2 separate regions of the Homo sapiens genome follow, and region 1 is linked to region 2. The links are contacts of gene promoters, found by promoter capture Hi-C in human tissues and cell types (Jung and others, 2019). All regions are on one chromosome and are shown on one strand. Each heading gives the region's core, a stretch centred on a gene start or on the middle of the fragment in contact. The rest is flanking DNA. Distances are from core to core; before and after follow the strand shown. Region 1 overlaps MYH9 (myosin heavy chain 9). Region 2 holds the start of APOL4 (apolipoprotein L4).

Evidence for each region. The method cuts DNA at HindIII sites, captures the fragments that hold promoters and counts their contacts. A contact is called where the count stands out against the background at its distance.
Region 1: a fragment that was not itself captured here is called in contact with the fragment with the promoter of APOL4 in region 2 in 4 of the 25 tissues and cell types used here (aorta, mesendoderm cells, pancreas and 1 more).

Annotation. Positions count from the first base shown.
Region 1 is chr22:36,303,719-36,308,472 of GRCh38, reverse strand. It overlaps MYH9 (myosin heavy chain 9), which reads left to right. Exons shown (of 41, transcript NM_002473.6): 16 at 1,866-2,059; 17 at 2,422-2,543; 18 at 3,371-3,440; 19 at 4,318-4,478. Among named protein-coding and RNA genes, the nearest start is that of MIR6819, 19 kb to the right of the region's middle. The HindIII fragment of the contact is 4,653 bases long and covers 854-4,754 here.
Region 2 is chr22:36,198,099-36,203,531 of GRCh38, reverse strand. APOL4 (apolipoprotein L4) reads left to right here and starts at 1,723. Exons shown (of 4, transcript NM_001386885.1): 1 at 1,723-1,832; 2 at 4,156-4,202. The coding sequence starts at 1,798. RefSeq lists an enhancer at 1,248-1,747. The HindIII fragment of the contact is 28,208 bases long and covers 1-5,433 here.

The sequences.
Region 1 (4,754 bases), core at 1,931-4,430, 100 kb before region 2:
GGGAGACCCTCATCTCTACAAAAAAATTAAAAAAAAAAAAATCAGCTGGGTGTGATGGTGCATGCCTGTAGTCCCAGCTGCTCAGGAGGCTGAGGCGGGAGGATCACTTGAGCACAGGTCAAGGCTGCAGTGAGCTGTGATTGCACCACTGTACTCCAGCCTGGGTGACAGGGTGAGACCCTGCCTCAAAAAAAAAAAAAAATCTTAAAACAGCAAAAATTGTTTAAAAATTTGTATCCTCCTTAGAGCTTCATGCCTAAAGACAGCGTCTTAAACTGCTTGAATGGCTGCGAGTGTCTTAGCATGAGGTTCAGGTATGCACACTGCTGTGTCTGTGCACCTGAAAGCTGAAGTGGCATCTGTGTGTTCATTCAACAGTTGCTCGGCAAGGTCTGCTCCATGGGGGTGGGGCCAGGACACACTCAGCTAAAAGGGCCAGTTATGATGAGGCCACATTAACCTTTCTCTGGACAACCTGAGTGGCTTTTGCAAGTTACCACGCCCAGGAAACCTGTGGTAGCCAGGAATATTGACCCTGTGGTGGGTACATAAGGTCAAAGATGACTCCCTTTTTTTTTTTTTTTGAGACAGAGTTTTGTTCTTGTCACCCAGGCTGGAGTGCCATGGTGCAATCTCGGCTCACTGCAACCTCCGCCTCCTGGGTTCAAGTGATTCTCCTGCCTCAGCCTCCCAAGTAGCTAGGATTACAGGCACCCGCCACCACGCCCAGCTAACTTTTGTATTTTTAGTAGAGATGGGGTTTCACCATGTTAGCCTGGCTGGTCTCGAACTCCTGACTTCAGGTGATCCACCCGCCTCAGCCTCCCAAAGTGCTGGGATTACAGGCGCGAGCCACCATGCCCAGCCACCTCCCATTTTAATTGACTGGTTTGTAGGCTCCATCCACACTCCTGGCTTCTGTCTTAAGCAAGCATCCTTTTTGCTGTCTTCAAGTAAATAATAGTAATCTGGCCGTGAAGGAATACGAAACGGGCTTCGTCAGTATTCTTCACTTTTATATCCAGTAATAGAAGGCTTCACATTTAACATTAGCTCTTGCTTAAACTGATCTCAAATCGCTGGCCACTTTGGTTTGGCTTGTTTGTTTGTTTTTTACCTTGGAGGATGCAATTGGTTTAATTGCTGCTGGGTGTGAGTTCCAGTGCTAGGGGCTGCTTCCCTTGAGGGTCGGTTTACATGAGAAAGACCCGTGCACCAGGAGACAAAATGAAATACAAGTACGTGAAGAGATCCCTAAACTTTGGAGTATTTATAATCAAGAGCAGTTCTTTGGAGCTCTCCCTTCCTGAGATGTCTGCGTAGATATAGAGGGGACCCTGCAAGGTTCTGCAGACAGTGACAGGGTGGCCCCAAGCTCTGCCTCCTGACTCCCAGCCGAGTGCTCTTATGACAGGGTCAGTGAGAATTCAAGATACTGATTTTTTTTTTTTCTAACTGTGACCATAGGACAGCAGGATTCCGTAAGCCAGGTTTTCACACCCCTCGTTAGAGCCAGGCTAGTAGAATTCTCACTATTCCAAAATACATGACTAGCTTCATTGAGTCTTTTTGGAAATAAGAGCTTCGAGAGTGGCTGAAGATAGGTGACAGGAAGGTGAGGTGGCCATGGCAGATGCATGGCTCCCCAAGAGACAAGCCCAGTGCCTTTGCATCCCCCTTGGCTTCCCGCTGTGTTTGGGGATGACCTTAGCACCCAGTGTAGGCTCCAATTGGAAAGGGTCCTGTTGTTTCATTCTGTCTCCTCTTTTCCTGTCCGACGTGTGCCTGTCTCTCTCTCCTACGTGCTCCCCCACCACCCAGCTGCAACTGTGTGGGCACTCACGTGTTCTCTGTGGTCTCCACAGTGGACCGCATCATCGGCCTGGACCAGGTGGCCGGCATGTCGGAGACCGCACTGCCCGGGGCCTTCAAGACGCGGAAGGGCATGTTCCGCACTGTGGGGCAGCTTTACAAGGAGCAGCTGGCCAAGCTGATGGCTACGCTGAGGAACACGAACCCCAACTTTGTCCGCTGCATCATCCCCAACCACGAGAAGAAGGTGCGGCTGCCTGGTGGGGTGGCCCGGGCAGGGCACTGTGGTGTGGGGTGCTCAGCCCTTGTCTGTCTCCCCAGCAAAAGCACCCCTCCAGCCCCCCAGCATGCACAGAGCCTTCAGTCGTTTCTCTGCAGGGTGGGCCTTGGCTCGCTTAGGAGATACGCTACATTCACAGCCTGCACTTCCTCTTGGTGGCATTGGCCCCTCCCAGACCTGGATCCTTTGACTTCATTGTCCAAACCTGTGGGCTGTAGCGACCCCCTCCCTTAGGCTCTTGCCCTGTCAGGTTCATAGGGGTTCCCTGACTATTCTCCGACTGTTCTAGGCACGGAAGTGAGACCGCATGCATGTGTTTTCTTCTCCAGGCCGGCAAGCTGGACCCGCATCTCGTGCTGGACCAGCTGCGCTGCAACGGTGTTCTCGAGGGCATCCGTATCTGCCGCCAGGGCTTCCCCAACAGGGTGGTCTTCCAGGAGTTTCGGCAGAGGTGAGCCAGGGCCCGGAGCCCGCTTCTCCTGGGCCCTGCTGTGCGTGCAGTGAGTCCCAGAGGTGGGCTGCTGCTCCCTGGCAGGATCCTGTCGTGAGGGAGCGACGTCCTCCATCCATGTAGAACTGAGTCTGGCCAGCTCTTCCCCACCTCCTTCTCTTTTCCACCCTTTGCAGGAAAGGAGACTTCCCCATTTTAATACCGAAATGCAGGTCATCATCATCCTGTTGACTTTTGCTCCTAGTAACTGCCGGCCCTGGTGCTATTTGCTACAGTTAGAGGAGCTATGAAAAGAAATGTAAAAGAATCAGCCAGAGACCTAGGATATTACAGGAACTTTGTGGAAATGAAACACGGCCGTGCGTTGCTGTGTGCGAAGACGGCGACACCTTCCTGTTTCTCTAATGACTGTGCTGAGTGTCAGTTGCTGTCGGGACGCAGCCCTTTATTTCTTGGGCCATCTCTGTTTATTAGCAGCTCCCTGCAGCGTCCCAGGGAAGCTGTGTGAACATGGCTGTCCCTGGGTGACAGATGAGGATCTCAGGCAATTAGCACTTAGTCCAACCTGAAGCACGCCCTTGAGTGATTGAAACGGTCCTACACGAGTTTCCATTCACTTTCCGGAAAACACCAAGGCTTCCTTGTCTCATTCAGCCGAAGAAAAGAGTGGGGTGGGATTTGCCTGTGTCTTCTTTCCTTAGGAGAGTTTGTGTAAAGAATTCTGTGTCTGTTGCATTGTAGAAATGATGTTAATCTCTCGCCTATATTCCAGGCATGTGGAATCGAGGCAATGGGTAAAATGACCAGGCTTCTCTTTCCTTCCTCAGATATGAGATCCTGACTCCAAACTCCATTCCCAAGGGTTTCATGGACGGGAAGCAGGCGTGCGTGCTCATGGTGAGTTGAGCTGCTGTCCCTGCCTCTCTGGATGGGCAGCCCCTTGTCTGGGGAGTGCCCACGTGGCCAGGGCCCACCTTGCTATATCAGTGGTCGGTGGATGCCCAGGCTGTGTCCCTTCTGATGCTCCGCGTCTGACTCTGCCGGGCGCCCTTTGCAGTAGCCCCTAGGCCTCAGATAGCCAGGGATGGTGTTTGGCACCAGGGTTGTGTGGAGGAGACAAGAACTGTAGCCATGGCCGGGCTCTGATGTAAGATGATGGCCTCTTTGGTTTGGGGGACATTCTCCTGCTTTCTTGCTCACGGGCCTGACTCCACATCCAGTGTGGTGAGCAGGGCAGCTCACAGCCAGGGCAGCAGGCCTGGTGCTCCGTGACCTGGGCTTCTCCTCCCTCCCTCCCCACTCCCAGCCCTAGCGCAGTGCTGGACGGGCTGTGCGCATGCTCTGAGTTCCGGTTGATTGAAAGCCCTGCGGTGACTCAGTGCCAAGCCAGGGCTGAATCCCACCCTGCTCCTTTTTTCCCCTTCCCAGCATCCTGTTGTTTCTGGCGTGTCCAGGTTAGCAGCTGCTACCTTTGGCCTTGTTTTACTTCACGTTCTTTCTAAAGAATCAGAAAGCTTTGGCTGCAGAGTAGGGAGTTGGTGGGAGGAAAAGAGAAGGAAAAATTCAACACCTACTGTGTGCACAGCCTGCGTTCGGTGACGGGGAGATAGGGAACAGGAAGAAGGAGGGAGAGGAGATGGCTTTCTGCTCTCCAGATGCTCGTCAGCCAGTGAGAAGAAGGGTGAAGGGCACACCTCCAGCTGTGCCTGGGCCACCCTTTCATGGAGCTGTGGCCAGTTGCTGGCCAGGTAAACGGCCTGCTCCTCCCACCTAGATAAAAGCCCTGGAGCTCGACAGCAATCTGTACCGCATTGGCCAGAGCAAAGTCTTCTTCCGTGCCGGTGTGCTGGCCCACCTGGAGGAGGAGCGAGACCTGAAGATCACCGACGTCATCATAGGGTTCCAGGCCTGCTGCAGGGGCTACCTGGCCAGGAAGTGAGTCCCGGGAGATACTCCTGCCCCGCATGCCAGGCCTTGCCACGCCCTTCTGTTGCCAAAGGGCACTTAGCAGGCCACCCCGCTGCAGCCAGTCACATGCCTGTCAGGGAGGCCCAGGTGGCTCTTCCTACCCCTGTTCCTGGATTTCTACCTTTGAGGAGTAGAATCGGGCAGTTCTTTTTTTTTTCTTTTTTTTTTTTTTTTTTTGAGACGGAGTCTCACTCTGTCGCCCAGGCTGGAGTGCTGTGGTGCGTTCTCGGCTCACTGCAACCT
Region 2 (5,433 bases), core at 474-2,973:
GATTGTGTTTCTGTTTTAAGGCTCTGTTAGAAATTACTGACGCACACACTATATTGTAAATTCTTATCTCTGTATACTGTACTTCTACATACAAATGCACTGTACTTCTACATACGAATGTTATGTTAAAGAATTACTTCATCCCCATGTGACCATCCCACCTCGTAATCAAATGACCCTAAATCCCTCACTAACCTACCCCCGCCCTCACTAAACTGAATAATAAATGCTGGTATATCCAGTGCATTGTTGACCAGAAGGCGGTGACCCCCCTGGACCCAGCTTTCACTATCTTGTGTGTGTCTATTATTTCTCAACCTGCCGATCCGCCTAGGAGCAAAGAGAGAGCCCCGTTGCACTGGGGGCTGCTGGCCAGATCCCGCAATAGGAAACATGGCTGAGACAGGGGAGTGAGAAGGTCGCATTGCAGAATGGTGCCTGTGGCATGACGCCAGCTTTGTAATCATGAGATTCAAAAGCCACCTGTGGAATTGTGAGTGTAACTACAGGAGTGAGAGCTTAGATCTCTGTGTTTGTAGAAGCAGAATCAAACCTGGACACTGTTGGATTACTAAAATCACCCGTTTTTCTTCAATAGCAGAGTCACAAGGGCAGATGTTGGCTTCCCGTCTGCTCTCCAAGAGCTGTGCGACTCTGGGCAAGTCACCTCCCCTCCCAGCCTAAGATTTTCCCCTCTCAGAAACCTGATAGAGCTGCCAAAAGTCCATGAAATCAGGGGGGTAATTTCTGTGAAATCTGAGTCGTGGTCTTATTTTTCTTTTTCTTTTTTTTTTTTTCTTTTTTCTGAGATGGAGTCTCGCTCTGTTGCCCAGGCTGGAGTGCAGTGGCGCAATCTCTGCTCACTGCAAGCTCCGCCTCCCGGGTTCACACCATTCTCCTGCCTCAGCCTCCCGAGTAGCTGGGACTACAGGCGCCCGCCACTACACTCGGCTAATTTTTGTATTTTTAGTAGAGATGGGGTTTCACCATGTTAGCCAGGATGGTCTCCATCTCCTGACCTTGTGATCTGCCTGCCTCGGCCTCCCAAAGTGCTGGGATTACAGGCGTGAGCCACCGCTCCCGGCCTGATTTTTCTTCACCAAAAAGAGATGCCCATCAAGATAGAAAGCACTATAGCTGAAGCCTGTAATCCCAGTGCTGTGGGAGGCAGAGGCGGGAAGATCACTTGAGGCCAGGAGTTCAAGACAGCCTGAGAAACACAGGAGATGCTGTCTCTATGAAATCAAAAATTAACAAATTAGCCCAGCATGGTAGCGTGCACCTGTAGTCCCAGCTACTCAGAAGGTTGAAGGAGGAAGATCACTTGAGCCCAGCAGATCTAGGCAGCAATGAGCTAGGATGGCGTCAAAGCCCTGCAGCCTGGGTGACACAGCAAAACGGTTTATTAAAAATGAAATGAAAATGGTGATTTCTCAGGAGGAGCACACTGTCTCAACCCCTCTTTTCCTGCCCAAGGAGGAGGCCCCGCAGCGACATGGAGGGAGCTGCTTTGCTGAAAATCTTTGTCGTCTGCATCTGGTGAGCTTGGCTCAGAGCCCTGAGGTGGGAGGGAGGGCTCCCTGTCTGGGCTGCACAATTGGGCAGGGCTTGGGCTGGGCCAGGAGCCATGTGGGTTTTTCTAGGAACCAAAATCACTTCCCGGAATTGACCAACTGGTAGACTCGCCTAGAGGGGACGCACTGTGTCCTAGTTGAGGCTAACAGTCAGTATCCAGCCTCAACATTCAGCAGAGGCCCCAGATCAGCGTCTGAGCCAGGCCAACAATGACCAAGGAGGATGGGATCCTGGGTGCAGCTCATCACAAGCGTCGGGTGAGTCCGAGGCCCCAGCTCTCTGCCCTCCTGCTCCTCTGCTCTCTCCTGGTCCTCCCAGTTCTACTGGCTCATGGTGTTGAGATGGTTGCCTTGGCCTAGGGGGTCACACAGTGAACAAAGCAGGAAGAAGGCGAAGGGATGCCCCTCTCCTGTCACCCCTGTCCCTTACAGCAAGAAGCGCCCAGACGCCCCTCTGCATACTCCCCTGGTGAATGCTGCCCAGGACTGGGTCCCCCTTTTACCCTTGTTGCATGGGGGCCCCAGAAGACAGACATCTGTGTGTCTGAACCCTGAGACAAAGGCAGGAAAGGGAAAGAGGGAGGCGAGTGGCTTTTGAGGAGGGGGCTTTAGTATGAGAGCTGGAGGATGGAACCCCATCAGGGGGCCCGGGAACCACTGAGCTGTTAAAATAAAGTCTGCAAACAAAGACCAGCTGCTGGAAGTGGGTGTGCCAGGGAGTGCGCAGAGACACACGGTGAGAAAAGAACAATGGTAATGCTTGGAGCCGCCCCTAACTGGGATGGGCCTGAAATGGTATTGTTATTATTTATAGTATCATTATTAGTCATTTTCATCTTATTTGTACCCTCCCTCTATCTCTCCTCTCCACCTTTTCCTAACATTCTATCACCAGTTTTATGTCTTCCATTAGCAACTTTGTAGCTGTAAACAATTTACTTACAACTTTCTTATACCCTCAGTTGTACCCAGTATTTCTTAACTTCCATCTTTAAAAAATGACAATATTAATCCTCCTTCTCCTTTGTTCAGTGCTTCACATCTCAACTGCTACCTTCGTGCCTTAAAGTTTGTACTAATTGGTATTGATAACAAGATATTTAGTTCTCAAATTTACATGTTGTGTATATATTTTTTGTCCTGATAAAGAGACTACTGAGAGCCAGTAAGACTGAAAGAATGGGCATCTTCATATACTGCTAGTTTGAGTGTGAATTGGTACAATTTGCATGTAGTGTGGCTCTAGGTATAAAACATTTTGAGATGTTGATACCCTCTGACCTAGTCATTCTACTCCTACAAATATCTTAAGGAAATAAAATCAAATGTGGGCAGTTTTACGTGAAGGAGGGTGTTCTTTGTAGCATAATTTACATGAAGAATTAGAAACACCCTAAGGTCCATCAGCTAGGGGAGGACAGCAGAGGGAACAGGGCAGCGCCAGGAGGGCTCGGCAGCCACAGCAGGGGCTAGGCCGGCATCTGGCAGGATCCAGGTCTTTGTGGGACAAAGGATCTTAGAGAAGCAAGGGGGACACAGGCTGTCCACTGCAGCACCAGTGAATTCACCAAGACGAAAAGTTGAGCACGGAGTGTGAGACATGGATTTGCAATGAGGAGTCATTTACCATGAGCGTGTATACATGACTCAATATTGTATATTTAAGGGAGTAGAGCACAGTCATTGAAGACATGAGGTTGAAGCAGAAGTCCTGGCTCTAGCAATAGAAAACACTGGCAAGTTCCCTAACTTTTGTGGATTCCTCTGTGTTCAAATGGGAAAGTGGTACCCATCTCCCGGGCTGTGTGTGATCATTGAATGAGACACATGTCAGAAGCCCTGCACATCACAGGCCCGGCGCGACCGCTCACGCCTGTAATCCCAGCACTTTGGGAGGCCGAGACGGGCTGATCATGAGGTCAGGAGATCGAGACCATCCTGGCTAACACGGTGAAACCCCTTCTCTACTGAAAATACAAAAAATTAGCCGAATGTGGCGACGGGCACCTGTAGTCCCAGCTACTCGAGAGGCTGAGGCAAGAGAATGGCGTGAACCTGGGAGGCGGCGCTTGCAGTGAGCCGAGATCGCGCCACTGCACTCCACCTGGACGACAGAGCGAGACTCCGTCTCAAAAAATATAAATAAATAAAAATAAAAATAAAAAAAGAAGCCCTGCACATCACAGACACTCAATACAGACTGGCTATCATCAATTAGTTGTCACACATGTTTCCGGTCATTGTTAGAACGTTCCTTCCCATCTCTATTTCTGCGTATAGACTGTGTAGTTTCTGTAATGATCAGATGGCTGCCCCTCCTCTGATTATCTTCTCCTCATTCTCCAACAGGACAAGCGGACTTTTCCTTGGTGTGAGAGTGAGGGAAGAGGGAGCTGGAATGAGTTGAGTGTCTGTAAATAGCAGATGATGGGGACTTGGTGATAGAGAAAGAATCTGGGTTAGGTTGGTCTTGGCATTTGCTGCCACCTCAGAGGGATCTGCAGAGGCCCAGCTGTTCAAGCCTCCCTTTGCCCATAGGTGGCTCACATTCAATCCCACAATTTGTTTTCTCTTCCTCAAGGGTGCAGCAAAACCATCCAGGCTGGACAGTGGCTGGACAGTTCCAAGGTAAGCCTTTCAGAGACCTGGCTGCTGGTAGGCTCGCCTCCTCTTCCCTGGCTGGTTCCTACCCACAGCTAGAATGGAGGGTGGTGTCTTCAAGGCTGAGTGAGCCCCAACGGAACCCAGACGGAGGTGGCTGATGAGGCTGCCCCAAGCCCCAAGAGAGGCCACGTGGAGTCCCCTGACCCAGGGTTCTGGGGGGCATCTGCATCCTGACCTCTCCTCAGCGGGTCATGGCCCAGGTGCCCACTTCCTCCCTACCCTGACACCTAGCAAATGACTTAAGTGGGGCAGGACAGCCTTGGGGAAATGGAAACAGCAGGGTTGGCTTTTGAGGGTTGGCCAGGAGTAGCGGAGGGGTGGGAGAGGAGGTTGACCAGCAGCCCTGACCTCTCACCTCCCTCTCTGCTCCTGGCTGACCCTGGGGTGTTTCCAGCAGAGGCCGGTCCCCTCCCTCCAGCTCTTGCCCTGCACCAGCCCCTCTGCTCTGAGTGGCCCTGTGGGTAGAGTGACCCAGCTTCCCACTGAACTGGACCCCATTCTGGTCTTGGCCATGTCCCCTCTGTGTGACCTGGAGCTCCTTACTCCTCCTCACCTGCACCACTAGGATATTTGCCCATGTTGTCATGAGGATCAAACATTACATGGGTACCTGGGCCAGCCAGTGCCTGCCACACAGTACGGCCTCCCTAAGGGGTGGTTCCCATCCCCTCTACCTGACCCCTGTTGATTGTAAGTGGAAGCCACCCCCTTCCCGAGCTGTGTTAGGGCACCCACCCTGCACTGCCTGTCACAAGCACCTCTTTATCTGGGCTGAGTCCAATCATCGAAAGTACCCCTTGTCAAAGAAACATCTGAGGCACAACAACATTTATCTGAATAAGAAGGAGTTCATAAATAGAGAAAACCAAACTGGAGGAGGTTTTGTGTTATGATGAAAAACTGTGGAAGACAAGTGTTTATCGGGTGAATATGGAAGTGCAATTAGGACATTATTTGATTAGTTCCAGTGATAAAACTGCCTGTTTTGCTTTACCTTGTTGGAAAATTCCTGGTCATGTTGATGCCGGTGGGTTTAGGGAGGTCTCTGAATGCAGGTGAGACCGGACCTTAGCCTTGTCCAGGATTCTGACAACGAAGAGAGAAAGAATTTGAGGCAAAGCCAAAGCAAATTAGCTTTTATTGCAAAGCAGAAGCGCAGGCTCAGGGGTGGGAGTGCAGGCGGACTCAGAAGAGC